Regions from separate parts of the Homo sapiens genome. Here regions 2, 3, 4, 5, 6 and 7 are each linked to region 1. The links are contacts of gene promoters, found by promoter capture Hi-C in blood cells and fetal thymus (Javierre and others, 2016). All regions are on one chromosome and are shown on one strand. The core of a region is centred on a gene start or on the middle of the fragment in contact, and the rest is flanking DNA. Distances in the headings are between cores, read along the strand shown. Region 1 holds the start of MCF2L2 (MCF.2 cell line derived transforming sequence-like 2). Region 2 overlaps ATP11B (ATPase phospholipid transporting 11B (putative)). Region 3 overlaps PARL (presenilin associated rhomboid like). Region 4 overlaps PARL (presenilin associated rhomboid like). Region 5 holds the start of LOC124906309 (a long non-coding RNA gene). Region 6 overlaps MAP6D1 (MAP6 domain containing 1). Region 7 overlaps MCCC1 (methylcrotonyl-CoA carboxylase subunit 1).

Region 1 (4,409 bases), core at 1,344-3,843:
GTACCCCACCCATTTCACAGGTTTTATTAGATTAAGTATGAGGAGACAGAATCTTGCAAAGCACACAAAAGCCAAGGGTCATTAGAGGTTGAAAGGAGAAACTACAACAAATTCCTATGTGTATCCTGCATGGAGCTGTCTATAGAAGGAGGGAGGGAGCAAGGTAGGCAAGAAAATACCATAGCCTGGGCGCCACAGGCAGCTAAGTGTTAGTCAAGGAATACTGCCTGCCAGATTTTCAAGAAGAGCCTGCTCCAGAGAAATAGGAGGGACCTTTAAAATCATCCAGGTCAACCCCTCGTTTAACAGATGGGAGGCTTCGCCCTGAGAGAGGCCCAGTAACCCACCAAAGATCTTTAGTGGCGTGACAGAGGGACCAGGGATATGTCTAATAACTGAAATGTCTGTATAATCACAGTGTACACAGTATTTCTACCCAAATTATCTTACTTATCTTCACAAGTAGCCTTTGAGCTGAGTGGGAAAGTACTATTAAAATTCCTATTTTTCAACCTGAGGTCGAATGACTTGTCCAGGGAAAGATTCAAATCCAGACGGTCACACCCCGAGTCCACTGCTCTTTCTCTATACCACAACTTCATGCCTGTGCTGGGTTTTAGCACAATCATTTCAACTTTCATCATATTGCAGATTCCGAATTCTGTTTCATTACAAGTTCTTTTTCCTCTTATTTCACACTGCCTTCAGCAATATTTCACATTCAACCTTACCTGGTAGGATCCTACTGATCTTTTGTCGTAAAAGTTCAGTGCCCACAATTGGCACCAGAAACTTTTTTCTAAACTTGAATTATCAAAACTGGGCCTTCCCATATAAATCATCTTTACAAAGTATGTCCTCACAAGTGTATCATTTGAGATGTGCACGATTATTACAGCAAACACGTTGGACTAATTGAGGCAACATTTAACATGCAAGTACCAAGAAAGCAGCTTTCACAAATGTGTAGAAAACCAAGGCAAATAGTTCCTGGCTTTATCAATAAAAGCTGATTTGCATTCATGGGAGGACCTCCAAGCACAGTCAGCAACAGAGAAAATGATCCCGATAATTCCAGTTGCCCACATCCAGAGGTTCTGAACCTGAATGTGTGTCTTTACTGAGGGAGGTCCAGGGAAGGCCAAGGGGAAGAAAGTGCTAAGAAAAAACTGACTGGGAACTGTCTCAATGTCCTCTTGCCCTTACTTAGTCTGTGGGGCCTGACGTTCCATCACAACCCTTATTTCAGGAGCAAGCAATGCATGTTTTGCTCCTCTTTTCAACTCAGGGAAGAAGATTAAAATTGCTCAGTCTCCTTGGCTTGCAGAGATTTCTCGCGGGGATCATCAGGGGTGTGCTTAACCCTCCAGGCAGCACAGTAAAACAGGCCTAGCGGCCGAGCTGCGCAGGGGCGCTCCCATGTAACCTGCCTCTCCCTGCACTTTCTTATAAACAAGCCTTCAGTGGCGTGGCAATCATTTCTGCTGAAAAGCACTGGCATTCGTTCCTCTTATGCCCTCTCCTTTCTCACTATCCCCAAAACCAGAACATAACTTCCCACCCACCCTACTCCCGTCAGAAGCAGCTAACGGATGGTAACAGCCCAGCAGCCCTCGGTTTGGAGCTCAACGGACTCGGCAACCACCTGGTGAAGGCACCAGCCTCGGCCCCCCGACCCCCACCAGCGGCGCGCCCCAGGGATGCCCCCCGCTGGGCACCGCAGGCAGGACCCAGAGCAGCGAGGCCCAGATGCCGGGCAACCCCCCAGGAAGCGCGCTGCCCCGGGGCAGCGGGTGAGGCCAGGAGCCAGATGAAGCCCAGAGACCATCCTCACCCGCCATTAATAAAACGCAGGAAAAATTAAAGCTTCGTTTACCGACATGAGTGATCACTGTGGCCAGTCGCCGGGTGAGCTCCTGGGGAGGCATCTCTTCTTTTAAGCAAGACAGCATTTCACTGAAAAACCATTCCGTATAAATAAAGCCAAACAAAACTGTTTCTACCGCTGCGGTGGATGATTTTTTAAAGGCATCTCCGCCCAAGGATGCTCTGCCCTCGCCCTCTTCCTGGCTCTCCAGGCAAGAAACGAGAGTCCCTCGCAGCCTAGGCCAGCTCTCCCTCGCCACGCCCCGCGGGGGCTCCCGTGACAGACCAAGTCTGGCGCTTTCCCAGCGTCGCAGCTGGACCGAGAGAGGAGCGGCCGTTCTGCAAAAGGAAGCAAGTCGCCAATCTCGCCGGAACCGCGCCCCGGCTCCTCCGGCCGGGCGAGCTCCGGGGCTTCCAGAATCGCGGTCCCGGCCGCCAGGTTTCCGGCGCCGCCTCCAGGGACTGTAGAGTGAGGGATGCTCCGCCAGGTGCAGGGGAGGCGGCAGGTGGCCGTGGCTTCTCTGCGCCGCCGGCCCCACGCCCCAGCGCCCACCTCGTCCAGCCCACGGGTGGCGCCCGGGGCTCTCGGGGAGGCACGCACGCTCCCAAGCGCCGCTCGTTTTGGGGTCGGGAACGCTGCGCACCTTTCCCTGCGGGGAGCCCGCGCTCCACCCCCGGAGTGGAGCTCCGGTCCTTACTCGGAACCGTGGGGCGGGGAGACAGTGACTGAGGCGCTCCAGTCGCACCGGGGTCCGGATCATCAGACGCGCGCCGGCCAGGTCTCCGCCCCTCCTTCTTCCGCGCCGGGTGTCTGCGGAGGAGCCGCGGAGAGAAGGGGGCTGGCCCGGAGAGCTGCCGCCATCCGGCAGGACCCGGAGCGGGAGGCTGGGTGAGGCGCCGCTGCTTGCCCCACCTCCTGACCCCGGGGGCGGCTGGCGTGTGTTTTCCCCCACTTGGGGTTGTTCCACGCAGTTCTTGACCTCCGCTGGCCACACCTGCACTGGGAGCCCGGCGCCCGGGCTGCGCTCCGACAAGGCTGAGCACGCGTGGGCGCGCTCACCCCCTATGTGGGCGTTTTCCTTCGTGCAGCTGCGCCCTTGCCTCTGCTCCGTCTGTCACCTGTCAGGCACGCCAGTGCTACCTTCTGGAGGGGCTGTGGCACATCCTCCATGCTGGTCCTCCTCCCCATCAGCCCATTATCCCGTGGTTTCCCTAGTTGGGCCCAGACACTTTCTGACTGGCAGCAAAAGACTAACCCCAGTTCAGCAGAGCGCTACGGGAAACGCCTGAGCAAATGCGAATTCGGTCAGGTTGTCCCCCAATCCTTTCTACAGCGGGAGTCCCTGAATACTCAGCAGGCGGAATGGCGGGACCACCCAGGCGGATGTTCTCAGCCATCTCTTTCCTCTTCGATATGTAAAAAGCCAAGCCGCAAACACCCTGGATCCAAATTCTAGGAGTAGCCACCCATCACAGGGGGCTGAGGGTATTTTTTTAATGCTTTCTCTTTTCTTCTTTTTTTTGGAGACTGAGTCTGGCTCTGTCGCCCAGGCTGGAGTGCAATGGCGCGATCTCAGCTCACTGCAAGCTCCGCCTCCCGGGTTCACGCCATTCTCCTGCCTCAGCCTCCCGAGTAGCTGGGACTACAGGCGCCCGCCACCACGCCCGGCTAATTTTTTGTATTTTTTAGTAGAGATGGGGTTTGTTTCACCGTGTTAGCCAAGGATGGTCTCGATCTCCTGACCTCGTGATCCGCCCACCTTGGCCTCCCAAAGTGCTGGGATTACAGGCGTGAGCCACCGCGCCCAGCCCTTTTTAATGCTTTCTCTAACAATTGTGGGCTGTGATTGAGAAGCGAGGTCAGTTCACCTGTGTCATGAGATTTGTGGAGAGGTTCTTCCCCCTGTGAAGTTTGGGCACTTTGCACTCTGCCTGCAAAACAGAGCAAGGATTTTCTTTTTCTTTTCTTTCTTTTTTTTTTTTTTCGTTTTTAGAGATGGAGTTTCACCATATTGCCCAGGCTGGTCTCAAACACATGGACTCAAGTGATCATGCCCGGCCACTGAGCAACCATTTTCACAACCACCTTTTGCAAGAGATTCAAAAAAGGGTTAAAAGGCCGGGCGTAGTGGCCCACGCCTGTAATCCCAGCACTTTGGGAGACCAAGGCGAGCGGATCACAAGGTCAGGCATTCAAGACCAGCCTGGCCAACATAGTGAAACCCCATTTTACTAAAAATACAAAAATTAGCTGGGTATGATGTCACGCACCTGTAATCCCAGCTACTCGGGAGGCTGAGGCAGGAGAATTGCTTGAACCTAGGAGGCGGAGGTTGCAGTGAGCCAAGACCGTGCCATTGCACTCCAGCCTGGGCAACAGAATGGGACTCCATCTCAAAAAAAAAAAAAAAAGAAAGGTTAAAGATCCGCAGGAGGGGAGGCAGCTTTTGAATTATGTTTCCGGCGTTCAAGGGTCACAAGAATTTTCAAGGAACCAAATGAGATGTTTCCTACTGATAGTAGTCAGAACCCTGGTGCCCAGT
Region 2 (4,409 bases), core at 779-3,278, 510 kb before region 1:
AACTTTTCTCTTATTGTTACTTTAGATCATGGAGTGCATCGGATCCTTTCTATACCAACGACAGGAGCATCTTGACTCTCTCCACAATGGACTCATCTACTTGTTAAAGGGGCAGTAGTACTTTGTGGGAGCCAGTTCACCTCCTTTCCTAAAATTCAGTGTGATCACCCTGTTAATGGCCACACTAGCTCTGAAATTAATTTCCAAAATCTTTGTAGTAGTTCATACCCACTCAGAGTTATAATGGCAAACAAACAGAAAGCATTAGTACAAGCCCCTCCCAACACCCTTAATTTGAATCTGAACATGTTAAAATTTGAGAATAAAGAGACATTTTTCATCTCTTTGTCTGGTTTGTCCCTTGTGCTTATGGGACTCCTAATGGCATTTCAGTCTGTTGCTGAGGCCATTATATTTTAATATAAATGTAGAAAAAAGAGAGAAATCTTAGTAAAGAGTATTTTTTAGTATTAGCTTGATTATTGACTCTTCTATTTAAATCTGCTTCTGTAAATTATGCTGAAAGTTTGCCTTGAGAACTCTATTTTTTTATTAGAGTTATATTTAAAGCTTTTCATGGGAAAAGTTAATGTGAATACTGAGGAATTTTGGTCCCTCAGTGACCTGTGTTGTTAATTCATTAATGCATTCTGAGTTCACAGAGCAAATTAGGAGAATCATTTCCAACCATTATTTACTGCAGTATGGGGAGTAAATTTATACCAATTCCTCTAACTGTACTGTAACACAGCCTGTAAAGTTAGCCATATAAATGCAAGGGTATATCATATATACAAATCAGGAATCAGGTCCGTTCACCGAACTTCAAATTGATGTTTACTAATATTTTTGTGACAGAGTATAAAGACCCTATAGTGGGTAAATTAGATACTATTAGCATATTATTAATTTAATGTCTTTATCATTGGATCTTTTGCATGCTTTAATCTGGTTAACATATTTAAATTTGCTTTTTTTCTCTTTACCTGAAGGCTCTGTGTATAGTATTTCATGACATCGTTGTACAGTTTAACTATATCAATAAAAAGTTTGGACAGTATTTAAATATTGCAAATATGTTTAATTATACAAATCAGAATAGTATGGGTAATTAAATGAATACAAAAAGAAGAGCCTCTTTCTGCAGCCGACTTAGACATGCTCTTCCCTTTCTATAAGCTAGATTTTAGAATAAAGGGTTTCAGTTAATAATCTTATTTTCAGGTTATGTCATCTAACTTATAGCAAACTACCACAATACAGTGAGTTCTGCCAGTGTCCCAGTACAAGGCATATTTCAGGTGTGGCTGTGGAATGTAAAAATGCTCAACTTGTATCAGGTAATGTTAGCAATAAATTAAATGCTAAGAATGATTAATCGGGTACATGTTACTGTAATTAACTCATTGCACTTCAAAACCTAACTTCCATCCTGAATTTATCAAGTAGTTCAGTATTGTCATTTGTTTTTGTTTTATTGAAAAGTAATGTTGTCTTAAGATTTAGAAGTGATTATTAGCTTGAGAACTATTACCCAGCTCTAAGCAAATAATGATTGTATACATATTAAGATAATGGTTAAATGCGGTTTTACCAAGTTTTCCCTTGAAAATGTAATTCCTTTATGGAGATTTATTGTGCAGCCCTAAGCTTCCTTCCCATTTCATGAATATAAGGCTTCTAGAATTGGACTGGCAGGGGAAAGAATGGTAGAGACAGAAATTAAGACTTTATCCTTGTTTGCTTGTAAACTATTATTTTCTTGCTAATGTAACATTTGTCTGTTCCAGTGATGTAAGGATATTAAGTTATTAAGCTAAATATTAATTTTCAAAAATAGTCCTTCTTTAACTTAGATATTTCATAGCTGGATTTAGGAAGATCTGTTATTCTGGAAGTACTAAAAAGAATAATACAACGTACAATGTCTGCATTCACTAATTCATGTTCCAGAAGAGGAAATAATGAAGATATACTCAGTAGAGTACTAGGTGGGAGGATATGGAAATTTGCTCATAAAATCTCTTATAAAACGTGCATATAACAAAATGACACCCAGTAGGCCTGCATTACATTTACATGACCGTGTTTATTTGCCATCAAATAAACTGAGTACTGACACCAGACAAAGACTCCAAAGTCATAAAATAGCCTATGACCAACTGCAGCAAGACAGGAGGTCAGCTCGCCTATAATGGTGCTTAAAGTGTGATTGATGTAATTTTCTGTACTCACCATTTGAAGTTAGTTAAGGAGAACTTTATTTTTTTAAAAAAAGTAAATGGCAACCACTAGTGTGCTCATCCTGAACTGTTACTCCAAATCCACTCCGTTTTTAAAGCAAAATTATCTTGTGATTTTAAGAAAAGAGTTTTCTATTTATTTAAGAAAGTAACAATGCAGTCTGCAAGCTTTCAGTAGTTTTCTAGTGCTATATTCATCCTGTAAAACTCTTACTACGTAACCAGTAATCACAAGGAAAGTGTCCCCTTTGCATATTTCTTTAAAATTCTTTCTTTGGAAAGTATGATGTTGATAATTAACTTACCCTTATCTGCCAAAACCAGAGCAAAATGCTAAATACGTTATTGCTAATCAGTGGTCTCAAATCGATTTGCCTCCCTTTGCCTCGTCTGAGGGCTGTAAGCCTGAAGATAGTGGCAAGCACCAAGTCAGTTTCCAAAATTGCCCCTCAGCTGCTTTAAGTGACTCAGCACCCTGCCTCAGCTTCAGCAGGCGTAGGCTCACCCTGGGCGGAGCAAAGTATGGGCCAGGGAGAACTACAGCTACGAAGACCTGCTGTCGAGTTGAGAAAAGGGGAGAATTTATGGTCTGAATTTTCTAACTGTCCTCTTTCTTGGGTCTAAAGCTCATAATACACAAAGGCTTCCAGACCTGAGCCACACCCAGGCCCTATCCTGAACAGGAGACTAAACAGAGGCAAATCAACCCTAGGAAATACTTGCATTCTGCCCTACGGTTAGTACCAGGACTGAGGTCATTTCTACTGGAAAAGATTGTGAGATTGAACTTATCTGATCGCTTGAGACTCCTAATAGGCAGGAGTCAAGGCCACTAGAAAATTGACAGTTAAGAGCCAAAAGTTTTTAAAATATGCTACTCTGAAAAATCTCGTGAAGGCTGTAGGAAAAGGGAGAATCTTCCATGTTGGTGTTTTTCCTGTAAAGATCAGTTTGGGGTATGATATAAGCAGGTATTAATAAAAATAACACACCAAAGAGTTACGTAAAACATGTTTTATTAATTTTGGTCCCCACGTACAGACATTTTATTTCTATTTTGAAATGAGTTATCTATTTTCATAAAAGTAAAACACTATTAAAGTGCTGTTTTATGTGAAATAACTTGAATGTTGTTCCTATAAAAAATAGATCATAACTCATGATATGTTTGTAATCATGGTAATTTAGATTTTTATGAGGAATGAGTATCTGGAAATATTGTAGCAATACTTGGTTTAAAATTTTGGACCTGAGACACTGTGGCTGTCTAATGTAATCCTTTAAAAATTCTCTGCATTGTCAGTAAATGTAGTATATTATTGTACAGCTACTCATAATTTTTTAAAGTTTATGAAGTTATATTTATCAAATAAAAACTTTCCTATATAATTAAAAGTGTTCCTTTATTTAAGCATTTTAAGCCTGTCTCTGTTTATCACAACCTGCACTGCCAAACTTGTTTCAAGTTAAGTTTTACTGTATTTACCCTTCATTATAGCACAGGGATATCATTTATGCCTTTCACTGACTGCAGTTTTTTAAAATGTAGTTCTTACCCAGCTTTTATAGATCATCATCAGTACAACTCCTGGAAAAGGCTCTGATAGGAATGTGCCAGCTGTAGATACCAGCATACCTCAACTAGAAATTGCATCATTCATGAAAAGCCAGCCAAGAGCACTTGTGAATTTGGAAATGGCCTGGTTCATAGAAAATATGTGCTTTTTTAAAAATATAGGACTGATTGATTGATTGATAATAGAATGTATACGTCCATATAAAATATTCCAGCTTCCTGACAACCAGTTATTTGCACTGCTTCCTCGGTTGCAAGTTAGAACAGACATAATTGTCTAATCTACATCTGCTTAAAAAGTTAAGCTGTTGTCTTTGCCCAGTTTTTAGTATTTGCAAAGGATGACAATGCATGATTTATGTAATGTATTTTTGAGATGTAATAAGAATACGATCCTAGACAAATCAGTTTAGGCATCTGTTTTTATATTTAAAAAGGAGTGTTTGGACTATCTTTAGGGCGACTACTGTCTTTAACTTCTAATATACAAGTAGAACATGATGAATAATGAATAAATTATTTAGGACAAAAAAATTTTATTAGAAGCATCTCACTAGAAAATTAATTAGTGAATTCAAAAACAATTCAAG
Region 3 (4,409 bases), core at 1,353-3,852, 440 kb after region 1:
TCTTTCCTTTATTCTTATTCAATTAAAAGCCAACTCTATCAAAAATACTTTTAAAATTCCTAGTCTAGTCCTTTATCTCATACCTGGATCATGGCAACACTTTCCTTAACTTCAAACACTTTAACCTGTTGCATGTTCTTCTGGCCTCACACTGCTTTTCCTCCACATTCTATAGTTTCTCAAATGTCCTCTCAGAGGGCCAAAAATCTCTTCCTAATTCTAATGCAACTCCTTAGCTCATCCCTTCTGGCCTGGAATACGCCACCATTTCCTAGCAGATCTCCTTGCTTCCAGTACTGCCCCACTCCAAGTGCATCCTTCACATTGTATTAAGCACAAATGTAATGTTCCCTTGCTTTAAACCCCACAATAACTTTTCATCACCCCATCAAACTCAGCACACATCCCTTCAATCCGACCCCTTCCTCTCTCTTGCCACTTCCTCCCTCTGCCACCTCAAATCCTCTCTATACCTGTTATACTGACTTTCTTGCAGTTCCTATGATCTGTTTTGCTCTCTTAACTACGACAATGCTACTCATATTTTGGTATATACTTCCCTTTAACTTTTTTGGGCCCTTCAGATTTCAGTTAATATATCTCCTCCTCCAGGAAGTCTTCCCTAGCTGCCCCAGGCTGGGTACTTCTCTCCTTTGCACTTCTAGAGTTCCAAAGCAGTTTTTTTAATACTTATCTCCACTACTGCCCACGCCCCCATTAGATTACAGTTTTATATTCATTATATCTCTATCACCAAGTCTAGTCCCTAATAAAAGGTCAATAATTATCTGTCAGAATAAAAAAGGGATCAAAAAATGATTAAGCTTTATTGTGAGTAACTCAAAGTAAGATGGTACTATACTCAAAGTAAGGTGGTACTATACTCAAAGTAAGGTAGTACTATACTGAAAGTAAGGTGGTACTATTCTCAAAGTAAGGTGGTACTATACTCAAGGTGGTACTATACTCAAAGTAAGGTGGTACTATATTCAAAGTAAGGTGGTACTATTCAATAAGATAAGGAAAATTGGAAGCCTCAAAATAGGCAACTGGGAGATAAGAGACGAACAATTCCAGCTGGGGTGCTGTTTAAAATGCTTGCAGTCATGGCAGCTTCATTCCTCTAGCTAAAAACTGAAACTTAAATTTCCATTAACAGGAGAAATTCTGTGGTATATTCATATAATGGAATATTACACTTGGCCAAAAAAAAAAAAAAAGGCTTGGGGGGGAGGGGTGGGGAAGAACTAATCATACATCATGGATAACTCTCAAAAACACTTTTGGCAAAAGAAGTAAAATACAAAAGAGTACATGATATGTGATTCTGTGACTTCCATTGCTAAGAAGTTGACAGACACACTAACCTGTAGTGATAAATATTAGATGAGCGATTGCCTGGAATGGGTGGGGCTTGACAGGAAAGGAGCAAGAGGAAACTTGCTGGGATGACGGCCATCTTTATCTTGATTTAGGTGATAGTCACACAGGTGTATACATTAATCAGAATGCACTGGCTGTATATTTAATACTTATACATTTTACTATATGTAAACTGTATCTCAATAAAGTATTTAAAAGAATGCTCATAGGACATCCAGGTGGAGGTATCTTAATAGGCATTTTGGAAATAAATGAAACTCAGAATAATAGCATAGCTACTACTACTATTACTTGCCTAGAATGCATTTTTTTTTTTTTTTTTTGAGATGGAGTTTCGCTCTTGTTGCCCAGGCTGGCATGCAATGGCGTGATCTCAGCTCACTGCAACCTCCACTTCCCAGGTACGAGCGATTCTCCTGTCTCAGCCTCCCAAGTAGCTCGGATTACAGGCATGTACTGCCACACCTGGCTAATTTTTTTGTATTTAGTAGAGACGAGGTTTTACCACGTTATTCAGGCTGGTCGCGAACTCCTGACCTCAGATGATCCACCCGCCTCGGCCTCCCAAAGTGCTGGGATTACAGGCATGTGCCACCATGCCTGGCCTAAGAATGCCCTTTCTCTTCAACACTGAGTCCACTCAATTCAACTCAGAAATCACAGTGAGGAAAGTGATTATAATTTGACTTGAGATTTTAATTTCAGAATTTATACTTCCAAATAAGTGATATTCCTTTCAAAGAAATCTATTACAGAAAAAGCAGAAAAGGTTTGAGTAAGTTCATCTATTTTGGAAAGTTATAAACTTATGCAACCAATGGTACTGTTGCTCTAAATGGCTCTTAACTCCCTTCAGAGCCTGTTACCAGTCTTATAACGAATATCCTTTAGCAAACCCTGTTGAATAGCTAATCCCAAATCTATTTCCAACCCTTTCCCCTTGCCTGCTTTTTCTGTAATAGGAAATATCTTCACTTTTCCAGGCTCCCCTAGAGCTAGTGGTAACCATATCACACAGGATTACAGCCAAATGAAACATAAGAATTTTTCAGGAGCCCCTTGGAAAGGTTTTGCTTACCTGATAAAAATGGACACGTCACTGATGTCAAGCACACCCCCTTCTTTCTGCCTTAAATAAGAATATAATGCCTAGAGACGAGGCAGTCATCTCAAATGCCAAGAGAAAGGCCAAGGGATTCAGACACTAACCTTGACATTTTTGAGCCACTGAGCAAAGACACTAGCCACTTACCTCCCATCATCCTATATTTGATAAATAACTCCCCTTCTTATTTAAACAACCATCAGTTTATTTACTGCCAAATGTATTCCTGGTATAATTTTTAAAGTGGTAGATGTTAACTTTTTGCAACTGGATTTGATTTAAAGATCCCAAAGTAACCTGGAGATAGGTCTAGTAAGTAAAGTCGCAATTAATTAATCAAAACAAGTAATGCCACTTTGGGCCAAAACAAAGGTGTATCATAAAGTAATAGGAATATATTTACCATAAAGATGACAAGTTGACAGCCGGGCATGGTAGCTCACGCCTGTAATCCCAGCACTTTGGGAGGCTGGGGTGGGAGGATCACCTGAGGTCAAGAGTTCGAGACCAGCTTGGCCAACATGGTGAAACTCCATCTCTGCTAAAAATACAAAACTTAGCTGGGCGTGGTGGCGCACGCCTGTATTTTGATTACAGGCGTGGTGGCACATGCCTGTAATCCCAGCTACTCAGGAAGCTAAGGCAGGAGACTCTCTAGAACCCAGGAGGCAGAGGTTGCAGTGAGGCGAGATCACGCCATTGCACTCCAGTGTGAGAGCTCCTGAGTGACAGAGCAAGACTCCGTCTCAAAAAAAAAAAAATTAATTAATTAATTAAAGATGGCAAGTTGTAACCCAGTAATCTTGGTTCCTAGCATTTGTCATGTACTGGACTGAGAAATACAAAGGATAAGAAATACAAAGGATTTGTATTTCCAACAGCTTAATACTACACAATCAATTCTAATAAAAAACTACTTCTACCTGTCACCAATTCACTTAAAATTTTGAAGCACAAGTTTTAAAAGGAACATAAACACGCTAGGTTGGGAATCTGGACTTGAGGCAAAGCCAGACCTTTTTGCCTAAAATATATACCTCGAGGATCTCACCAGAAGTGTGCATCAAGCTGAGGACATTAAGAGTACATTACACAAGCTGGCCCCAGGGTTAAGTTCAGAACTTATCAGTAGGTACACATACTGAATACATCACACACAGGCATACCTCGATTTATTGTACTTCACAGATATCCCAAGTTTGTTACACAAATTGAAGGTTTGTGGCAACCATACATCTAGCATGTCTTTTGGCACCATTTTTCCAACAGCATGCGCTCACTTGGTGGCTCTGTGTCACATTTCCGTAATTCTCACAACACTTCAATTTTTTCTTATCTGTTATGGTGATTTGTGATCAGTGACCTTTGATGTTACTACTGAAATTGTTTTGGGTGCCATGAACCATGAGACAATGAACTTAATAATGTTGTGTAGGTTCTGACTGCTCTACCAACCAGCCATTGCCCACCTTTCCCTCTCTTTGGACCCCCCTATTCCTTGGAACACAACAATATTGACACTGGTCAATTAATAACCCTACAATCACCGCTAAGTGTTCAAGCTGAAAGGAACAGTCACATGTCTCTGGCTTGAAATCATTAGAAATAATCTTTTTTTTTTTTTTTGAGATGGAGTTTTGCTCTATCACCCAGGCTGCAGTGCAGTGGCGCGATCTCGACTCACTGCAACCTCCACCTCTCGGGTGCAAGCGATTCTCCTGCCTCAGCCTCCCAAGTAGCTGGGACTACAAGCACCTGCCACCACACCGAGCTGATTTTTGTATTTTTAGCAGAGATGGGGTTTCGCCATGTTGGCCAGGCTGGTCTCGAACTCAAACCTCACGTGATCCTCCCGCTTCGGCCTCCCAAAGTGCCCAGCCAATTAGAAATAATTAAGCTTAGTGAAGAAGGCATGTCAAAA
Region 4 (4,409 bases), core at 1,243-3,742, 410 kb after region 1:
AGCTTTTAGAAAAGATGAATTCTGGACATGACTGAAATCTAGTAAATGAAAAGGAGTTTAAATTAGAAACAGTAAAGAGAAAGGATTCCTCCACCTTTCAGACCCTGGACTTTAAAATGCATTTGATCCAATTATTTTCAGAATGGAAAAAGGCCACCTAATTATAGTTCAGATGAATAAAAATCTACTGGGGAGAAGAGCCTTGAAGTATACATGGAAGATAAATTTAGAGCTCACAAAACAGAACCCCTTCATGTTTCTCATACTGTAATATCAGGTCAGTTTCTACTATTTATACTGCACTGCTGTTAGAGCTAGACCTTGCATATACTACATACTACTCCTCTTTAATCACTTAAAATTATAAATGGCATAATGGCATTTAGTTCTGCCACCTACTGGGAAAAACTGCTTCACTTAGAATAGATTTTTCTTTTTTTTTTTTTTGAGACAGAGTCTCACTTTGTCGCCCAGGCTGGAGTGCAGTGGCGTGATCTCGGCTCACTGCAAGCTCTGCCTTCTGGGTTCACACCATTCTCCTGCCTCAGCCTCCCGAGTAGCTGGGACTACAGGCGCCCGCCACCACGCCCGGCTAAGTTTTTTGTATTTTTAGTAGAGACGGGGTTTCACTGTGTTAGCCAGGATGGTCTCGATCTCCTGACCTTGTGATCCGCCTGCCTTGGCCTCCCAAAGTGCTGGGATTACAGGCGTGAGCCACTGCACCTGGCCAGAATAGATTTTTCTTTTTAATAAAAAAAAAAATTAAGTTTTCCATTGTCGCGGAACAAAATAAAAACCAAGTAAGGGCAAAAGGCAACATTTATGTAAGAAAAGACAGGCCCCGAGGGGATCCAGCTCATGCTGACGGGTCTCCCACGATCAGATGGACGCCAAGAGTCCTGACCGTGTTTCCGTGATACAGTTACTACTAAGCACTAGTCTAGGCAAAACCCCATTGTTTGAAGCACACGTGGAAGGTCTTGTAACCACAATGCCATTTGCTGTGACCCAAGGAAGCAGTTTAGCAACCAATTCCATATGGTGTGGTGGGGGTGGAAAGGGCTTATAGAGGTGGGTTTACAGCTCTGCTCTGCTATTGAAGAGCTGTTTGGCCTGGGGAAGATGATGTCTGAGCCTCAGTTTCCCATCAGTAAAATGGGAGTAGTAATAGTATAACATAAGGGAACTAGCTTGGTGCCTGCATACAGCGGGTACTCAGTAAGTGGTCCACATTGGTTTGCAGTCACCGGCCTCTACTCCAGTCATACAGAGCAATGGCTCCGCCAACTCAGCATGTCTAAATAGCACTGGCGAGACAGAGGTCAGGGTAGCAGGGTGGGACGCCAGGCAGGGGAGAGGAGGGCAGGAAAGTCTGAAGGGGAAAAAGAAGATGTCAGCATAGACTGGGGGCCAGGCTGCAGTCTTCTAAGAGGGGGCTGGGAATAACAGGCCAACAGTTGGGGCAACTTAAGGTTAAGCGTAGGGTAAAGGCACAGACTGTCTCTACAATGAGCCAGGTATGCTGGGTAAACCCAAAGCAAGCCACGTTGAGGTTTCCTCACCCTCCCAAGCCCACCTGCTTCTGCTTCCGTTGCATAGTTCAATGTCTCTGCCATGGGGATGGGGGGTAGGGGTGAGGCTGGGGTAGGAGGAGCGCATGACCCAAGGAAGCAGTTTAGCAATCAATTACACTCAAACTTACATTCCAAAAAGAGCTCCCCCAAGATGTGCCGCATGATCAAAAAATTTCCATCCCAGGATCATTCCTGCTGTATCCATGGCGATAATGGCTTTCAGGGCCTGAAAGGCAGCAAGAAACAAGCGGCACAACTGTGATTGCTCCAGCACTGACATTTCTAACTTAAGGGCAAGAACCCACTCAACATAAAAACATCACCACTATCCCCAGCACTGCACTTCATAAAAATACTTACATTCCCTGCTGTGAACGTGAACATCGGAAGGAAAATAATGGCAAGCCTCCCTTCTGGGATCTTAGTGCAGACAGCTGCGAGGACTGTCATGATGGCACCAGACTGCAAAGTAACACAGCAGGGAGAATGGGAAACTCAATATGCAACTGCTTAGTGGCTACAAGGTCTAAAGAGCAGCACATTTTCTAGAAAGTTTACATGCTGCACATTTCTAGGTGAGCACAAAGCTTCAAAGCTTTCAGTTACTTATGTCCCCAATAATAGGTGAAGGAACTAAATGTCCTTCACACAGTAATCGCTTGGAAAGACTGAATTTTTACTACGGGGCAGTAAGATGTATGTGCCTCATGAACCGCAAGGACAGTGCTAAGCGTGTCATGCGCATCTTTCACCTATGGCCTAGGAAAGAACTGCTCACACTTCTCTGACAAAGCTCCAACCAGAGGGAGTGGGCATGAATACGCCCAAAGAAACCTGCATGCATGAAGCATGTTTCATCTTAAAAAATTCATGTGAAATCTTTATTCATCTTCATAAAGAAACAAAACATTGCCAGTGTGGTGGCTCACGCCTGTAATTCCAGCACAGTGTGAGGCATGAGGATCCCTTAAGCCCAGGAGGTCAAGGTTACAGTGAGCTATGATTGCACCACTGCACTCCTGCCTGGGCAACAGAGTAAGACCCTGTCTCAAAAATAATAAAGGAATAAACTGATACACAGAACATGGATGAGTCTCAAAGTAATTATACAGAGTAAATGAGGCCAGGACAACAAATACTAGTATATGCTGTATGGTTCCATTTGCAAACTAATTTATCTTTAGTAGAAGTAGGTAAGTTGTCGCCAGGGGTAGAGGAGGGGCAGGAAGGAGTGACCACTAGGAAGCTTTTGGGATGAATATGTCCATGATCTTGAGTGTGGTGATGGTTTCACGGGTGTCTACATGTCAAAGCTTACCAAACTTTAAATATGTGCAGTTTTTTGCATGTTAACTAGTAAACCTGAGTTGCCTGCTTTTTAAAAAGACTACATGGGGCTGGGTGCAGTGGCTCTCGCCTATAATCCCAGCACTTTTGGAGGCCGAGGCAGGTGGATCACCTGAGGTCAGGAGTTTGAGACCAGCCTGACCAACGTGGTAAAACCCCGTCTCTACTAAAAATACAAAAAAAAAAAAAAAAAAAAAAATTAGCTGGGCGTGGTGGCGGATGCTTATAATCCCACCTACTTAGGATGCTAAGGCCCGAGAATTGCTTGAACCCGGGAGGCAGAGGTTGCAGTGAGCCGAGATTGTCCCACTGCACTCCAGCCTGGGTAAAACAGCGAGACTCTGTCTCAAAACAAAACAAAACAAACAAACAAAAAAGACTTTATGGGAGTCCTCTGTACTATTTCCTGCAACTTTCCATAAGTTTTTAATTATTTATGAATGAGATGTTTAAAAAAAAAAAAAAGACACCTAAGAGCAAAATAACTTTTGAAAGAAGCCCCTATCATTAAAAAGAAAGGTTCCTACCTTTTCATATAAAAACGGTTGTTTCTGGAAAATAGCATCTACCTCTCTTAATCAATGTTTTCTTAATGTCTTCTATGTGACGGGTTGCTTCAGAATACAAGATTATCTTACATTTGGGGAATTACTAAAACTTTAAAGAAAATTATTATGAGTCCCAGAGATCTCAGATGTCCCCAGTCCCTCATATAACTGCCAAGTGGCCTCAACAGGGAAACAAGCTCGGGTTGCATTCTTAGAAGTCAGGGTAACTGCAAGATGGAAGGACAGCATGAACACTCCTCAAAAGGAGGACCCAAGAAGACCTGAATTTTGACCAAGCTGGCTTCTGTGCAAGAGACTATAATTGTAGCCGGGCACGGTGGCTCACGCCTGTAATCCCAGCACTCTGAGGGGCCGAGGCAGGTGGATCACCTGAGGTCAGGAGTTCAAGACCAGCCTAGCCAACATAGTGAAACCCCGTCTCTACTAAAAACACAAAAATTAGCCAGACGTGGTGGTGGGCGCCTGTAGTCCCAGCTACTCGGAAGGCTGAGGTTGTGGTGAGCCAAGATTGAGCCACTGTACTCCAGCCTGGGCGACAGAGTGACACTTTATCTCAAAAAAACCCCAAAACAAATCAAAATTACACGTTTCCCCAAAATGAAGCAAATATAATTTGATTAGTTGATATGAAAGAGCATTAAAATTCTATGAAGTTCTGCCAGGCACAGTCGCTTACACCTGTAATCCCAGGACTTTGGGAGGCTGAGGCGGGCAGATCACCTGAGGTCTGGAGTTCGAGACCAGCCTGACCAACATGAAGAAACCCAGTCTCTGCTAAAAATACAAAATTAGCTGGGCATGGTCGTGCATGCCTGTAATCCCAGCTACTCAGGAGGTTGAGGCAGGAGAATTGCTTGAACCCGGGAGGCAGAGGTTGTAGCGAGCCGAGATCGCACCTTTGCACTCCAGCCTGGGCAAC
Region 5 (4,409 bases), core at 1,126-3,625, 390 kb before region 1:
AGTATCTGACATAAACCAAAAACTCAATAAATCTTAGCTATTATCATTGAGTTTAGGCAGGGTTCTGTGAAACGTGGCCTCTAGTAGCAAAGTAAGAATAGCTTGCAAGCCTTGAATACTTAAAATAGTTGGTCATTCTCACTGTGGTCACTAGAAGTTGCTTCTGCTTTGGACTCATAAATGCTTCTGGCACCTTTTTTTTTTTTTTTTTTTTTTTTGGGACAGGGTCCCGCTCTGTCGCCCAGGCTGGAGTGCAGTGGTGCAATCTCGGCTCACTGCAAGCTCCACCTCCCAGGTTCATGCCATTCTCCTGCCTCAGCCTCCTGAGTAGCTGGGACTACAGGCGCCCACCACCATGCCTGGCTAATTTTTTGTACTTTTTAGGAGAGACAGGGTTTCACCATGTTAGCCAGGATGGTCTCCATCTCCTGACCTCGTGATCCACCTGCCTCAGCCTCCCAAAGTGCTGGGGTTACGGGTGGGAGATACCGTGCCTGGCACTTCTGGTATCTTTTTTTTTTTTTTTCCTTTTTAAAAATTTTTATTTTATAAATAGGGACAGGATCTCACTATGTCACCTAGGCTGATCTCAAACTCCTGCCCTCAAGCAATCCTCCCGCCTTGGCCTCCCAAAGTGCTGAGATTACAGGTGTGAGCCACTGTGACCAGCCTGGTCTCTTAAGCTTCCTGTTTCATGCATTCTATTTAATTGTGGTCATTGCTTATTAGCATTTTTTGGAGACTTAGCTATGTATCATTTTCTGAAAGCTCTTACATACAGACTTGGATTATTTTCATAGAATACTGCCAAAAGGGTGTAGTGAACAGCAATCATGTTGGCTTTTCAATTATGTATTTATTTTTTCATGAAAACTTTTTTTAATTCCAAAAAATGCAACATACTTCAAATCAGTGCTTGGTGCTTTAGTGAAGAGCCATGCCAAATAACACAGTTGGCCTATATGAATTACAATCAAATATGTAATTCTTCTGTTCAATTCAGGTTGAAGAAGCCAGTGAAACTTTACCGCTTTTGATATTTGCATTCAGCATATAGGAGTCTAGAATAAGATACTTCCAGATTTGGGGGGTTGTATTTTTTAGGATGAAATGAGCATAAATGGATGGGTTAACCATTTGCAGAATGCTACTATATAAAGATGTTTACAAATTTTCATTATAAAGGCTTAACAATATGCCCAATGCACTTAAGATAATGACCATCTAGGCTCAGGATTGAAAAATAACTGAAGAGCTGTAACCCAATAAACTTGTGTGAACAAAATATTTGTTACTGGCTGGCATGGTGGCTCACGCCTGTAATCCCAGCACTTTGGGAGGCTGAGGTGAGTGGATCATAAGGTCAGGAGATCGAGACTATCCTGGCTAAAATGGTGAAACCCTGTCTCTACTAAAAATACAAAAACTTAGCCGGGCGTGGTGGTGGGTGCCTGTAGTCTCAGATACTCGGGAGGCTGAGGCATGAGAATGGCACGAACCCAGGAGGTGGAGCTTGCAGTGAGCCAAGATCGTGCCACTGCACTCCAGCCTGGGCAACAGAGCCAGAGTCTGTGTCAAAAAAAAAAAAAAAAAAATTTGTTACTGGGTGAGTGTCTTCATAGAGGTGAAGTAAAAGAGATTTTCCTCTGTCCAAGGAAGAGCGTTCTGTGATCAGCTGGTGAAAGTATTCTGCTCTACCTGGGAGGCATATTTTTATACCAGAACTGTCACAGTTCAATGACATGTCACATTCAAGGTTAGCCAGGATTCTGAGCTCTGACTCTGCCCATTGGGCCTCCCACACAAACTGTCTCACAGCAGAAGGGATACAGTGACCAGCTATCATAGAATTCTGGTCCTGCTGCTACACTGCTCCAGCCAAAAGTTTATAAACTGCCTTCTGGCTTAAGCGTCAGCCTCTTTTGACATCAGTTAAAGAAAATCAGTCACTAAGTCGAGCCAACTCAAATTAGTTTACAATCAAAAATCAATTTTCTACTGGAAAAGTGGTGGAAACAGCCTAAGAGTCAATGTCACAAAGAGTAGGTGTGAATCCTAGTTCTGCCACTCACTAGCCTTGACTAAACTACTTCACTTCTGTGCCTTACCATCCATGCTTTCATCTTCCATACGTGGGTATAACAGCGACTCCCCCTCATTTACGTTGTGAAGATAAAAACTTACATCAGATAAGGCACTTAATAAATTACAGCTCTGCAGTGACCCACTTCCACCTGAAACCCCTGAAACACTGCATGGGCAGTGGGTAATCGTCCCTCTCTGACATAGTTTTGAAAACTGTTTTTCTTATTTAAAAGTAATACATTCTCGCTGCAGAAAAATTGCAAAGCAAAAAAAAAAGTACAAAGAATTGGGGAAAAAGAGGTTTTTTTGGGCATATTTCTAACATTCTGGCATATTTCATTTCAGCTGTTTTGCTATGTTTATTTTATGACATATTTTTAGAATATTTACAAAATTTTTAAAAAGTGTAAAGAAGAAAAGCAAATACCATCAACTCTACTACCCAGAGCCAATCAATTCTATTATATTGGCATATTTCCCTCCAATGTTTAGCCTAGGCATTTAAAAAATGTAACTGACTGATCATGGCCAGGCTGGAATCCTCTTTTTCAGATTAATGTGATACATTTCTATGACTCACATTTCTCTTTTAATGAAACATTACTTACTGTTTTTACCATCTTTAAGAGTCATGTTTCTGGTATACGAGATATTCAGTCTTCTTCCACTGCTAGACGAAAATGGAGAGAATTGATCTAGAAAAAATTTAAAATTCAGTAACAAACTTATGAGTATCAAGCCTATGAAATTTACACCTTACAAAAGAAAACATAAAATGCAAGTGCTGGCCGGGCACAGTGGCTCATGCCTGTAATCCCAGCACTTTGGGAGGCCAAGGCGGGCGGATCATGAGGTCAGGAGATCGAGACCATCCTAGCTAACACGGTGAAACCCCGTCTCTACTAAAAATACAAAAAAATTAGCTGGGCATGGTGACGGGCGCCTCTAGTCCCAGCTACTCTGGAGGCTGAGGCAGGAGAATGGCGTGAATCCGGGAGGTGGAGCTTGCAGTGAGCCAAGATTGCGCCACTGCACCGGATCCAGCCTGGGCGACAGAGCAAGACTCCGTCTCAAAAAAAAAAAAAAACAAAAAAACACACGTCCTAAACTGGCAGCTCAGATGTGCTTTTTTTGTTCTTCTTGTTAAGTTTAAAGGGCTGGTTTTGTTTACATCTTATGAAATTTCATGTGAAAAATTCTAGCTTCTATTGAAGAATCTGAATATTTGCAATCTAAACTCTAATCCCATAGTGGCATAAACTGTACCACAGTCACCACCTTTTGATGGGGCAAATTCATTCCAGGTCACCAGTCTCTACTATTCACTATTTTTCTTTCACCTGGCCTCTTTTACTCTTTTATGTTTTTATGTTGTTGGCCCAGCCCTTATAGGCCTTTTTTTTTTTTCTTTTTTGAGACGAGTCTCGTTCTGTCGCCCAGGATGGAGTGCAGTGGCATGATCTTGGCTCACTGCAACCTCCACCTCCTGGGTTCAAGTGATTCTCCTGCCTCAGCCTCCAGAGTAGCTGGGATTACAGGTGGGTGCCACCACAGCTGGCTAACTTTTCTATTTTTAGTGGAGATGGGGTTTCACCATGTTGGCCAGGCTGGTCTCAAACTCCTGACCTTAAGTGATCCACCCGCCCTGGGCCTCTCAAAGTGTTGGGATTACAGGCATGAGCCACCGCGCCTGGCCCCTTATAGGCATTTGGGTGTATATCCTCTATTGGACAATATCCAGGAGCTTCAGCATAGCTAAGCTGATGCAATTTATTCTGAACCTCATATCTGTACCAATTATAAACTTTCAAAAGGAAGGTCACAGTAAGACAACGTTCCATTCTAAAAACGTTAAGGTCAGGCTCAGGAATACCACATGGGACGTATTTAGATGCATTTTCATTCAATGTAAAAGGATAAAATGAGGATAGAGCACAAATCTTCTAAAGATGCAGTTTTCGGGACTTAAAACATTTTACATTTTAAGCTTTCCATACAGCTATCTTGAATGAATCTAAATGAATTCAGAAATTAAAGATTCTAATGATAGGATCCTATAATAATACGGGTTCAGTATCACTTACCCAAAATGCTTGGGACCAGAAGTGTTTTGAATTTCAGATTTTTTTTTTTTTTTTTGGATTTTGGATTATTTGCATTATATTTAACTGGCTTAGCATCCCTGATCCAAGTATCTGGAATCTGAACTGTTCCAATGAGCATTTCCTTTGAGCATCATGTTAGTGCTGAAAAAGCTTCCGATTCTGGAGCATTTTGGATTTGGGGATTTGGGATGCTCAAACTGTATAGGGTAATATAATAAT
Region 6 (4,409 bases), core at 1,393-3,892, 390 kb after region 1:
AAAATACAGAAAATTAGCTGGGCATGGTGGTGTGTGCCTGTAATTCCAGCTACTCGGGAGGCTGAGGCAGGAAGAATCACTTGAACCCAGGAGGCGGAGGTTGCAGTGTGCCAAGATCATACCACTGCACTCCAGCCCTGGTGACAGAGGAGACCCCGTCTCAAAAATTGATTGATCAATTCAGCATCTGAGGGCTGCAAGTACAGAAGGAATCTATTCTCAGCAGGGCATAGGGCACGCACTGGCTTAACAGTTTAGTATATAAGGCTCAAATAGTCTATACCTGAACTGCTATAAGCAAGGTCGATAGGGAAGTGGATAGATTGCTTCAGCAAAGTGAACTGTGAGATCTCCAGGACAGAGGGAGAAAGATCTGATCCAAATGAGAACAGATTGGTTATTGCAGGTATCACAGCCTAAAGAAATTATCTTTTTGCAAAAGAAATATTAAATGATTTAGCAGTCTCCACGTGTGTTAATGTTTCAAACGTGTATCATAATGTGTATAATTGTGTAACAAAATTGTCTACAATAAATCTTTTGGTATTTGTGGTGGGTGTTTCTGAGTTTGAAGCATGGTACTCAGGCAGGGTTCTCCCTGCACTGGGATGAGGTGATGGTGTAGAGTCTTATTGATATGTTTAAATTAATTCCTCTACTTCTTGCCAAAAAAAAAAAAATGTTGCAACCGTATAAGATAAAGGATTACAGTTACATAAAAGTCTAAAAAAAATTTGGAAATGGACATAATTATTCCTGACAGCTTGGGGCAAAAGAAAACTGCATAAATGAGCTCAGAGCTTCCTTAAAGCCAAGGCAGAGAGAGAATCAGCTCCTCGTGTCTAACAAAGAAACATACCGGGTTATCTGGCAGGGTAAAATTGGACTGTGTTGAGGACTGAAACAAGTCACTCCTGTGACACGGTCCTTATGCTGTGACCATCTGCTAGCATATGGCTCAGAAATAGTGAAAAATCCAGAAACGTAAGAGCTGAAAGATTTTGAAAGCTTTGGTTCTTCAAAGGCATTATGATACAGTCCAAGTATGTAACTTTCTGGGGACCAGACTTTGCTGAGAGTCATAATGGAGAGTCAAAGAGTCTGATGGCTGAGAGGGGTGTGCCTAGGCTTGCCTTCATAAATGTTCATTGTCTCAGCCAAGGTTTTGGCAGGAGCGAGAGCAGGCTCAGATCAGTGTCACAGGCAGTACCTTACGTGACTTGGACTCCAAGTTATTGATGGAAGGAGTCCTGTGTGAACGGGGCCAACAGAACTGGCTTTGGGGCTTCATCATCATCTTGACCCTGTTCAAAGGGGAGGTTCTTCCATTTGTCTGGGGTGGGCTGCAGGGCCTAGCTTTTTTCAAAAGCTGCTTTTGGGAACGTGGCCTGAGTCCTGGAGTTCTGTACCATGGAGCACAGAGAGGCGAGACCTTGTTCTAAATGCCTGCAAACCCCCTCGACTTGCGGAAGGATCTTTAGGACTTTCCACCTGCAGAGCGTCATAGTGCAGCCCGTGGCTGCTTGAGGCAGCTCCCGCAGTGGCAGCTTGGGTTGTGAAATAATTAAAAAGTTAACATTTTCTTTTGTCTGGAATTTGCTAACATGTTGAACTGCTTTTTATTTATTTAGAGACAGAGTCTGGGCCGGGCACGGTGGCTCATGCCTGTAATCCCAGCACTTTGGGAGGCCGAGGCAGGCAGATCACAAAGTCAGGAGATCGAGACCATCGTGGCCAACATAGTGAAACCCCGTCTATACTAAAAATATAAAAATTAGCCAGGCGTGGTAGCAGGTGCCTGTAATCCTAGCTACTCAGGAGGCTGAGGCAGGAGAATCGCTTGAACCTGGGAGGCGGAGGTTGCAGTGAGCCGAGATCGTGCCATTGCACTCCATCCAGCCTGGGTGACAAGAACAAGACTCCATTGTCTCAAAAAAAAAAAAAAAAAAAAGAGTCTGCTCTCTCGCCCAGGTTGGAGTGCAGTGGCACGATCTCAGCTCACTGCAACCTCCGCCTCCTGGGTTCAAGTGAGCACGTCTGGCTAATTTTTGTATTTTTAGTAGAGATAGGGTTTCACCATGTTGACCAGGCTGGTCTCAAACTCCTGACCTCAAGTGATCCACCTGCCTTGGCCTTCCAAAGTGCTGGGATTACAGACATGAGCCACCATGCCTGGCTTGCTTTTTATTTTTAAGAACTTTTTCTTTACAGAATTATTATAAAAATGTTTACAGAAACTTTAGCAAGCATAAAAAATGTGTTTGAAAAACTACTCATAATTCCTCCTCTGAAAGATAATCACTGCTAACATCTCTCAGTGCCTTTCTTTCAGTCTTATATGCGTATTATGTATGTGTGTGAGAGATGATTGATAGATAGCTATGAGTTGGGACCACATGGTTGAGACTTGTCTGTCTCAGTTGCTTCTTGGGTCACTTGCTGAACATGTTAGGCCTGATTATTTAGACCTAAGTGAGTGGGAAGGAGTTTCAGCATAACCCACATCTCCTCATAAAGAGGCCAGGCTGGGTGCAGTGGCTTACACCTGCAATCCCAGTGCTTTGTGGAGGCTGAGGCAGGAGGATTGCTTGAGCCCAGGAGTTCAGGACCAGCCTGGGCAACCATAGGGAGACCCTGTTTCTACAAAATGTACAAAAATAAATAAAAAATGGCCGGGTGTGATAGCTCAACGCCTGTAATCCCAGCACTTTGGGAGGCTGAGATGGGAGGATCATCTGAGGTCAGGAGTTCGAGACCAGCCCAGCCAACATGACGCCCCGTCTCTACAAAAATTAGCTGGGCATGGTGGTGGGCGCCTGTAATCCCAGCTACTCGGGAGGCTGAGGTGGGAGAATATCGCTTGAACGTGGGAGGCAGAGGTTGCAGTGAGCCGAGATTGCACCACTGCACTCCAGCCTGGGTGACAGCCAAAAAAAAAAAAGCCAGGCATGGTGGCATGCCCCTGTGGTCCCAACTACTCGAGAGGCTGAGGCGGGAGGATCACTTGAGCCCAGGAGGTTGAGGATGCAGTGAGCAGTGTTCACACCACTGGGTGACAAAGCAAGACCCTGCCTCGATGATGATGCACCCTCAGAGCAACACTGGAGTTGGTGTCTGTGAAAAGCTGTCTGCTGTGCATTGCAGAGGCTCTTGACCATCTGTTTGTTTGTCTTGCAGTCAGGCCTGTCTGGTGTGGTGAGGCCTCCACTGCGGCTGCCCCACCAGCACTGCCAGGAAGGGGCAGGCCCGGTTGGTCCTGGCTGAGCTGCAGCAGAGCTGACCAGCCCATTATAGGAAAAGAACAAACAAGCATCTGGGCGCTGTGCAGGGTGACGTTGGCCAGGGGGGGTGAGGGGCTGGGAGCACACGGCATCAAGCTAGAGGATGCTGGGAGCTGCAGGTGGGAACACAGCTGGCTCCCAGGGAAAGTGAGGAGGGGGGACTAAGGCAGGAAAGAATAATCCTAACACCTGTGCCTCAGTTATTTCCTGTACTGAGCACCCCACCCATAAACACGGATGCTCTTGGCAAGCCACAAGGTGTAGCTGGTAGCGTCGTCACTTCTCAGTGAAGAAACGGAACCCCAGTTGCTCACAGGTAGCAAGTGAAGCTGGGATTAGAGCCTGAGGAGCTTCAGAGAGAGGCGCCTGGGTGAGGGTAGGGGACGGGTGGGTTCTGTGGGCTGCACCTACCACATGTGCTCTGCACCCCACAGCAAGAAGTGCTCAGCATCAACAGGCCTCTGAGGTGTGGCGGCAGCTGCACCACACTGAAGTCCTTAGCACCAAGAGACTGGAGAAAACAAGCGTGAGAAGACTCGTGCTTATAATTTAAGAAACTGAAACTACATTTTTGCATTTTAGTAAAATCTGAGATTGTACAGTTTTTAATCTCATTTCCACAGACACCCAGCAGGCAGCCTCTTTTCTCTTAGAAAAATCAAACATGCAAGCCGTGAAGTCAGGAATAGCTGAACCCCTTGGATAAGCACACGCTTTGGGCTTCTTTAAAGCGAGCCTCTCATCAAGAGCATTTCCTTTGCTGGCATGAGGGGAGGGCTGTGCCTGCCAGGGCTAGCACCTGGGAGGGACGCTGACAGGCAGTCGGAGCTGGAACCACTGTCCCACCTGCACGTCTGGTGGCTCTGAGACCCGAGTGCCACCACCTGCAGCTTAAATGCTCGTCTCACTAGAGCCACTTGTGGGCTGGAGAGGAAGAAAGATCCAAAGGGAAATCCACAAATTTCCTTACTGAAGACTGTCCTGAGCTTGTACCTCTAAGCTTTAAAAAGAGACGAAGACCCCTCAAACGTGTGAAGGCACCAGGCGTGACCCATGTGGCCATGCTGGCTGGAATTTACGGAGGAAGTTAGGAGAGAGCTTTGCAAAGAAAATGAACTGCCTCTTCAA
Region 7 (4,409 bases), core at 997-3,496, 380 kb before region 1:
GAAGAAGCATCAGGTATGGCAGGAATGTTAGAATTATCAGACACAGAAATTCTAAACTGTGATTAACAGGCTAAGGGCTTTAATGAAAAAAGTAGACAACATGCAAGAACAGATAGATAATGTAAGCAGAGAGGTGAAAATTCTAAGAAAGAATAAAAAGGAAATGCTAGAATTGAAAAAAAAAAAACCATAACCCTAATAGAAATGAAGCATGCTTTGATGGGCTCATTAGTACGTTGGGTATGGCAGGGAAAGAACCTCTGAACTTGAGGATATGACAACAGAAACTTCCAATTCTGAAAAACAGTGAGAAAAAAAACCTTAAACAGAACAATACCTAGCACTGCAAGACAACTACAAAAGGTATTAACTACGCAGAACGAGAATACCAGAAGGAGAAGAAAGGAAGGAACAGAAGTAATATTTGAAACAATAATAACATGTTACTGCATACTGTAGGCAACTGTAACACAGTGGTAAGTATTTGTGTATCTACATATATCTAAACCTAAAGAAAGTAATGCATTGTACTATGATGTTACAGTTGCCACAATGTCACTGGATAGGAATTTTTCAGCTGCATTTTAATCTTATGGAACCATTGTTATATTGAATAAAATGGTGTTATGCAGCATATGACTGTACTTGATATGCTAAAAAAGGAGAGGAAATTGGATCATAGAAGATGCTCAATTAAAACCATGAAAGGCAGAAAAAGTCTGAAAGATAAAAATAGGAACAAACAAGGGGAATAAATAGAAAACAATAATAAATATGGTAAATATTAATCAAAGTACATTAATAATCACTTTAAATGTTGATGTCTAAATATACCAATTAAAAGACAGAGATTGTTGGAGTAGATTAAAAAACAAAAGACAAATATATGTTACCTACAAGAAATCCACTTTAAAGACTTATAGACTTAAAGTAAAAACAGACAAAGAATATGCTAACACCAAAGAAAGTGCGAGTAGCCATCTTAATTTTAGAGCAAACTTCAGAGCAGGGAAAGTTATCAGGGATAAGGAGGGGCATTAAACAATGATAAAAGGGTAGACATAACAATTTTTAACATGCATGTACCTAACAACAGAGCATAAAATATATGTAGCAAAAAAGAATTGTAAGGAGAAATAGATTAATTCACTATTACAGTTGGAGACTTTAACACCCATCTGTTATTAAATAGATATGGATGATCCAGCAGGCAGAAAATCACTAAGGACATAGTTGAATTCAACAACACCATCAATCAACTGGATACAACTGTCATCTATAGACTATTTCATCCAACAACAGCAGAACACATTCTCAAGCTAGAAAGGAATATTCACCAGGATAGACCACATTCTGGACCATAAACCACATCTTAACAAATTTAAAAGAATATAAATCATAACAGTGTCTGCTCTCAGAACATAACAGAATTAAACTAGAAATCACTAACAGAAGGATATCTGGAAAATCCTAAGATATTTGGATGTTAAACAACACACTTCTAAATGACACCTGAATCAATAAAGAAATCTCAAGAAAAAATTTAAAATATTCTCAACTAAATAAAAATACAACTTTCAAAATTTGTAGAATGCATCAAAAGCAGTGCTTAGTGGGAAATTTATAGCATTGAATGTATATATTAGAAAAGAAAATACCAAAATCAAGAATCTAAGCTTATATTTTAATTAATGAGAAGAGAACAGCAAATTAAATCCAAAGTAAGCAGAAGAAATAATAAAAATTAAAGCAAAAATTAATGAAATTGAAAATGGAAAATCAATAGAAAAAAATCACCAAAACCCAAACCAGTTCCTTGAAAAGATCAATAAAATCAGTAACCTTGGCCACAGCGGGCAGCTCAAAAGGTCAAGAGATCAAGACCATCCTGGCCAAGATGGTGAAACCCATCTCTACTAAAAAAATATAAAAATTAGCTGGGTGTAGTGGCGTGCACCTGTAGTTCCCAGCTACTCGGGAGGCTGAGGCAGGAGAATTGCTTGAACCCAGGAGGCGGAGGTTGCAGTGAGCCAAGATCTCACCATTGCACTCCAGCCTGGCGACAGAATGAGACTTTGTTTCAAAAAAAAAAAAAAGAAAAAAGAAAAGAAACAAAAGCACAATAACCTTTAGCCAGGTTAACTAAGAAAAAAAGAAGAGAGAAAATACAAATTGCTAGTAACGGAACAAAAAGAGGTCTATTACTACAGGTCCCATGGACATTAAAATGATAATAAAGAAATATTATGAATAATTCTATGCCCACAAATTTGATAACCTAGATGAAATGAACCAATTCCTTCAAAGACACAATCTGTCAAAACTCCTACAAGAAAGAGAGAACCTAGGGCCAGGTGCAGTGGCTCATGTGTGTAATCCCAACACTTTGGGAGGCCAAGGTGGGAAGACTGCTTGAGCTCAGGGGTTTGAGACCAGCCTTGGCAATACAGGGGGACCCTGTCTCTACTAAAAAATTTAAAAATTAGCTGAGTGTTGTGGCACATGCCTGTAGTTCCAGCTACTTGGGAGGCTGAGGTGGGAAGATCACTTGAGTCCAGGAAGTGGAGGTTGCAGTGAGCATAGGCCAGGTATGGTGGCTCACGCCTGTAATCCCAGCACTTTGGGAGGCCATGGCAGGAGGATCCCTTGGGGCCAAGAGTCTAAGACCAGCCTGGGCAATATGAGACCCTGTCTCTATAAAATTAAATTAAAAAAAGAGAATCTGAATAGCTATATTTATTAAAGAGATTAAGTCAATAATTAATAACCTTCCAAAACAGAAAGCACAAGGCCAGCTGAGTATAATATAACCTAGACAAGCTTGAGTATGGTGATGACTTTTTATATACAACACCAAAGGCATGATCTACAAATAATTTATATACTGGACTTCATTAAAACTTAAAACTTCTGCTCTGTGAAAAGGAAAGTCGGCCGGGCGCGGTGGCTCAAGCCTGTAATTCCAGCACTTTGGGAGGCTGAGGTGGGCGGATCACCTGAGGTCAAGAGTTTGAGATCAGCCTGGCTAAAGTGGTGAAACCCCGCCTCTACTAAAAATGCAAAAAAGTAGCTGGGTGTGTGATGGCACGTGCCTGTAATCCCAGCTACTCAGGGGGCTGGGACAGGAGAATCATTTGAACCTGGGAGGCGGAGGTTGCAGTGAGCCGAGATCACACCATTGCATTCCAGCCTGGGAGACAGAGTGAGACTCTGTCTCAAAAAAAAAAAAAAAAAAAAAGAAAGGGAAAGTTGAGAAGTGAAGACAAGCCTCAGACTGACAGTGTTTGCAAAGGCACATCTGATAAAGAACTGTCATTCAAAATATACAAAGGACTCTTAAAACTCAACAATAGGAAAACAAACAACCTGATTAAAAAATGGGTGAAAGACCTGAACAGACACTTCATCAAAGAAGATATAAAGATGGCAAGTATGCATATGAAAAGATGTTCAACACTGTATGTCATTAGGGAAGTGCAAATTAAAACAATGAGATACCAAATGGCCTGAATCCAAAACACTGACATCACCAAAAGCTGGAGAGGATTTGGAGCAACAGGAAACCTCTTTTGTTGCTGACAGGAATGCAAAATAGTACTGTCACTTTAGAATAGAGTTTGTCAGTTTCTTCCAAAACTAAATATTCTTTTACCATGTGACCCAGTAGCACGCTCCTTAGTATTCACCCAAATAAACTAAAAAATTATGTCCATACAAAAGCCTGTTTGTTTTCAGGGTGTTTATAGCAGCTTTATTCATAATTGCCAAAACTTGGAAGCAACCAAGATGTCCTTCAGTAGCTAAATAGATAATAAACTCTGAGACATCGAGACAACGAAATATTATTCAGCATAAAAAAGAAATGAGCTATCAAGCCATGAAAAGACATGGAGGAAACTTAAATGCATATTATAAAGAAGCCAATCGGAAAAGGCTACATACTGTATGATTCCAGCTATCTGAAATTCTTGAAAAGGCAAAACTATGGGGGCAGTAAAAACATGAGTGGCTGCCGGGGTTTAGGGGGGATGAAAGGATGAATAGACAGAGCACAGAGGATATTTAGGGCACTGAAACTATTCTATACCATAGTACAATGGTGGATACATATCATTATACATTTGTCAAAACTCACAGAATGTACAACACCAAGAGTGAGCCCTAATGTAAACTATGGACTTGGGTGATAATGATGTGTCAATGTAGGGTCGCTGACTGTAACAAACGTACCTCTCTGGTGCAGGAATATTGATACTGTGGGAGCTTGTGTGTTGGGGGGTATCCGAGTGGGGGACAGGGGGTATATGGGAATTCTCTGTACCTTTTGCTCAATTTTGCTGTAAGCTTAAAACTGCTCTAAAAGAGAAAGTTTATTAACCATAAAGAAGTAAAAAAATCAATCTAGTGAT

What was found. The method cuts DNA at HindIII sites, captures the fragments that hold promoters and counts their contacts. A CHiCAGO score of 5 or more calls a contact.
Region 2: a fragment that was not itself captured here is called in contact with the fragment with the promoter of MCF2L2 in region 1 in 1 of 17 cell types (endothelial precursors); the score reaches 5.4 in endothelial precursors.
Region 3: a contact is called between a fragment that was not itself captured here and the fragment with the promoter of MCF2L2 in region 1, in 1 of 17 cell types (megakaryocytes). The highest score is 5.4, in megakaryocytes.
Region 4: a contact is called between a fragment that was not itself captured here and the fragment with the promoter of MCF2L2 in region 1, in 2 of 17 cell types (fetal thymus and megakaryocytes). The highest score is 5.9, in fetal thymus.
Region 5: a fragment that was not itself captured here is called in contact with the fragment with the promoter of MCF2L2 in region 1 in 1 of 17 cell types (M1 macrophages); the score reaches 5.3 in M1 macrophages.
Region 6: a fragment that was not itself captured here is called in contact with the fragment with the promoter of MCF2L2 in region 1 in 4 of 17 cell types (endothelial precursors, M1 macrophages, megakaryocytes and 1 more); the score reaches 6.6 in endothelial precursors.
Region 7: a fragment that was not itself captured here is called in contact with the fragment with the promoter of MCF2L2 in region 1 in 1 of 17 cell types (M1 macrophages); the score reaches 5.0 in M1 macrophages.

What each region holds. Positions count from the first base shown.
Region 1 is chr3:183,426,026-183,430,434 of GRCh38, forward strand. MCF2L2 (MCF.2 cell line derived transforming sequence-like 2) reads right to left here and starts at 2,594. Exons shown (of 30, transcript NM_015078.4): 1 at 1,877-2,594. The coding sequence starts at 1,952. RefSeq lists a silencer at 2,344-2,423. The HindIII fragment of the contact is 2,747 bases long and covers 1,865-4,409 here.
Region 2 is chr3:182,917,998-182,922,406 of GRCh38, forward strand. It overlaps ATP11B (ATPase phospholipid transporting 11B (putative)), which reads left to right. Exons shown (of 30, transcript NM_014616.3): 30 at 26-3,632. The coding sequence ends at 107. Among named protein-coding and RNA genes, the nearest start is that of DCUN1D1, 60 kb to the right of the region's middle. The HindIII fragment of the contact is 761 bases long and covers 1,649-2,409 here.
Region 3 is chr3:183,870,313-183,874,721 of GRCh38, forward strand. All of the region lies in intron 1 of PARL (presenilin associated rhomboid like), which reads right to left. Among named protein-coding and RNA genes, the nearest start is that of PARL, 12 kb to the right of the region's middle. The HindIII fragment of the contact is 3,561 bases long and covers 823-4,383 here.
Region 4 is chr3:183,831,790-183,836,198 of GRCh38, forward strand. PARL (presenilin associated rhomboid like) reads right to left here. Exons shown (of 10, transcript NM_018622.7): 8 at 1,935-2,036; 9 at 1,703-1,800. Among named protein-coding and RNA genes, the nearest start is that of MAP6D1, 8.4 kb to the left of the region's middle. The HindIII fragment of the contact is 651 bases long and covers 2,168-2,818 here.
Region 5 is chr3:183,031,298-183,035,706 of GRCh38, forward strand. MCCC1 (methylcrotonyl-CoA carboxylase subunit 1) reads right to left here. Exons shown (of 19, transcript NM_020166.5): 14 at 2,694-2,780. LOC124906309 (a long non-coding RNA gene) reads right to left here and starts at 2,687. Exons shown (of 2, transcript XR_007096188.1): 1 at 1-2,687. The HindIII fragment of the contact is 3,389 bases long and covers 682-4,070 here.
Region 6 is chr3:183,812,073-183,816,481 of GRCh38, forward strand. MAP6D1 (MAP6 domain containing 1) reads right to left here. Exons shown (of 3, transcript NM_024871.4): 3 at 3,850-4,409. It overlaps YEATS2 (YEATS domain containing 2), which reads left to right. Exons shown (of 31, transcript NM_018023.5): 31 at 1-552. Among named protein-coding and RNA genes, the nearest start is that of YEATS2-AS1, 3.8 kb to the left of the region's middle. The HindIII fragment of the contact is 3,273 bases long and covers 1,007-4,279 here.
Region 7 is chr3:183,047,489-183,051,897 of GRCh38, forward strand. All of the region lies in intron 9 of MCCC1 (methylcrotonyl-CoA carboxylase subunit 1), which reads right to left. Among named protein-coding and RNA genes, the nearest start is that of MCCC1, 50 kb to the right of the region's middle. The HindIII fragment of the contact is 1,144 bases long and covers 1,675-2,818 here.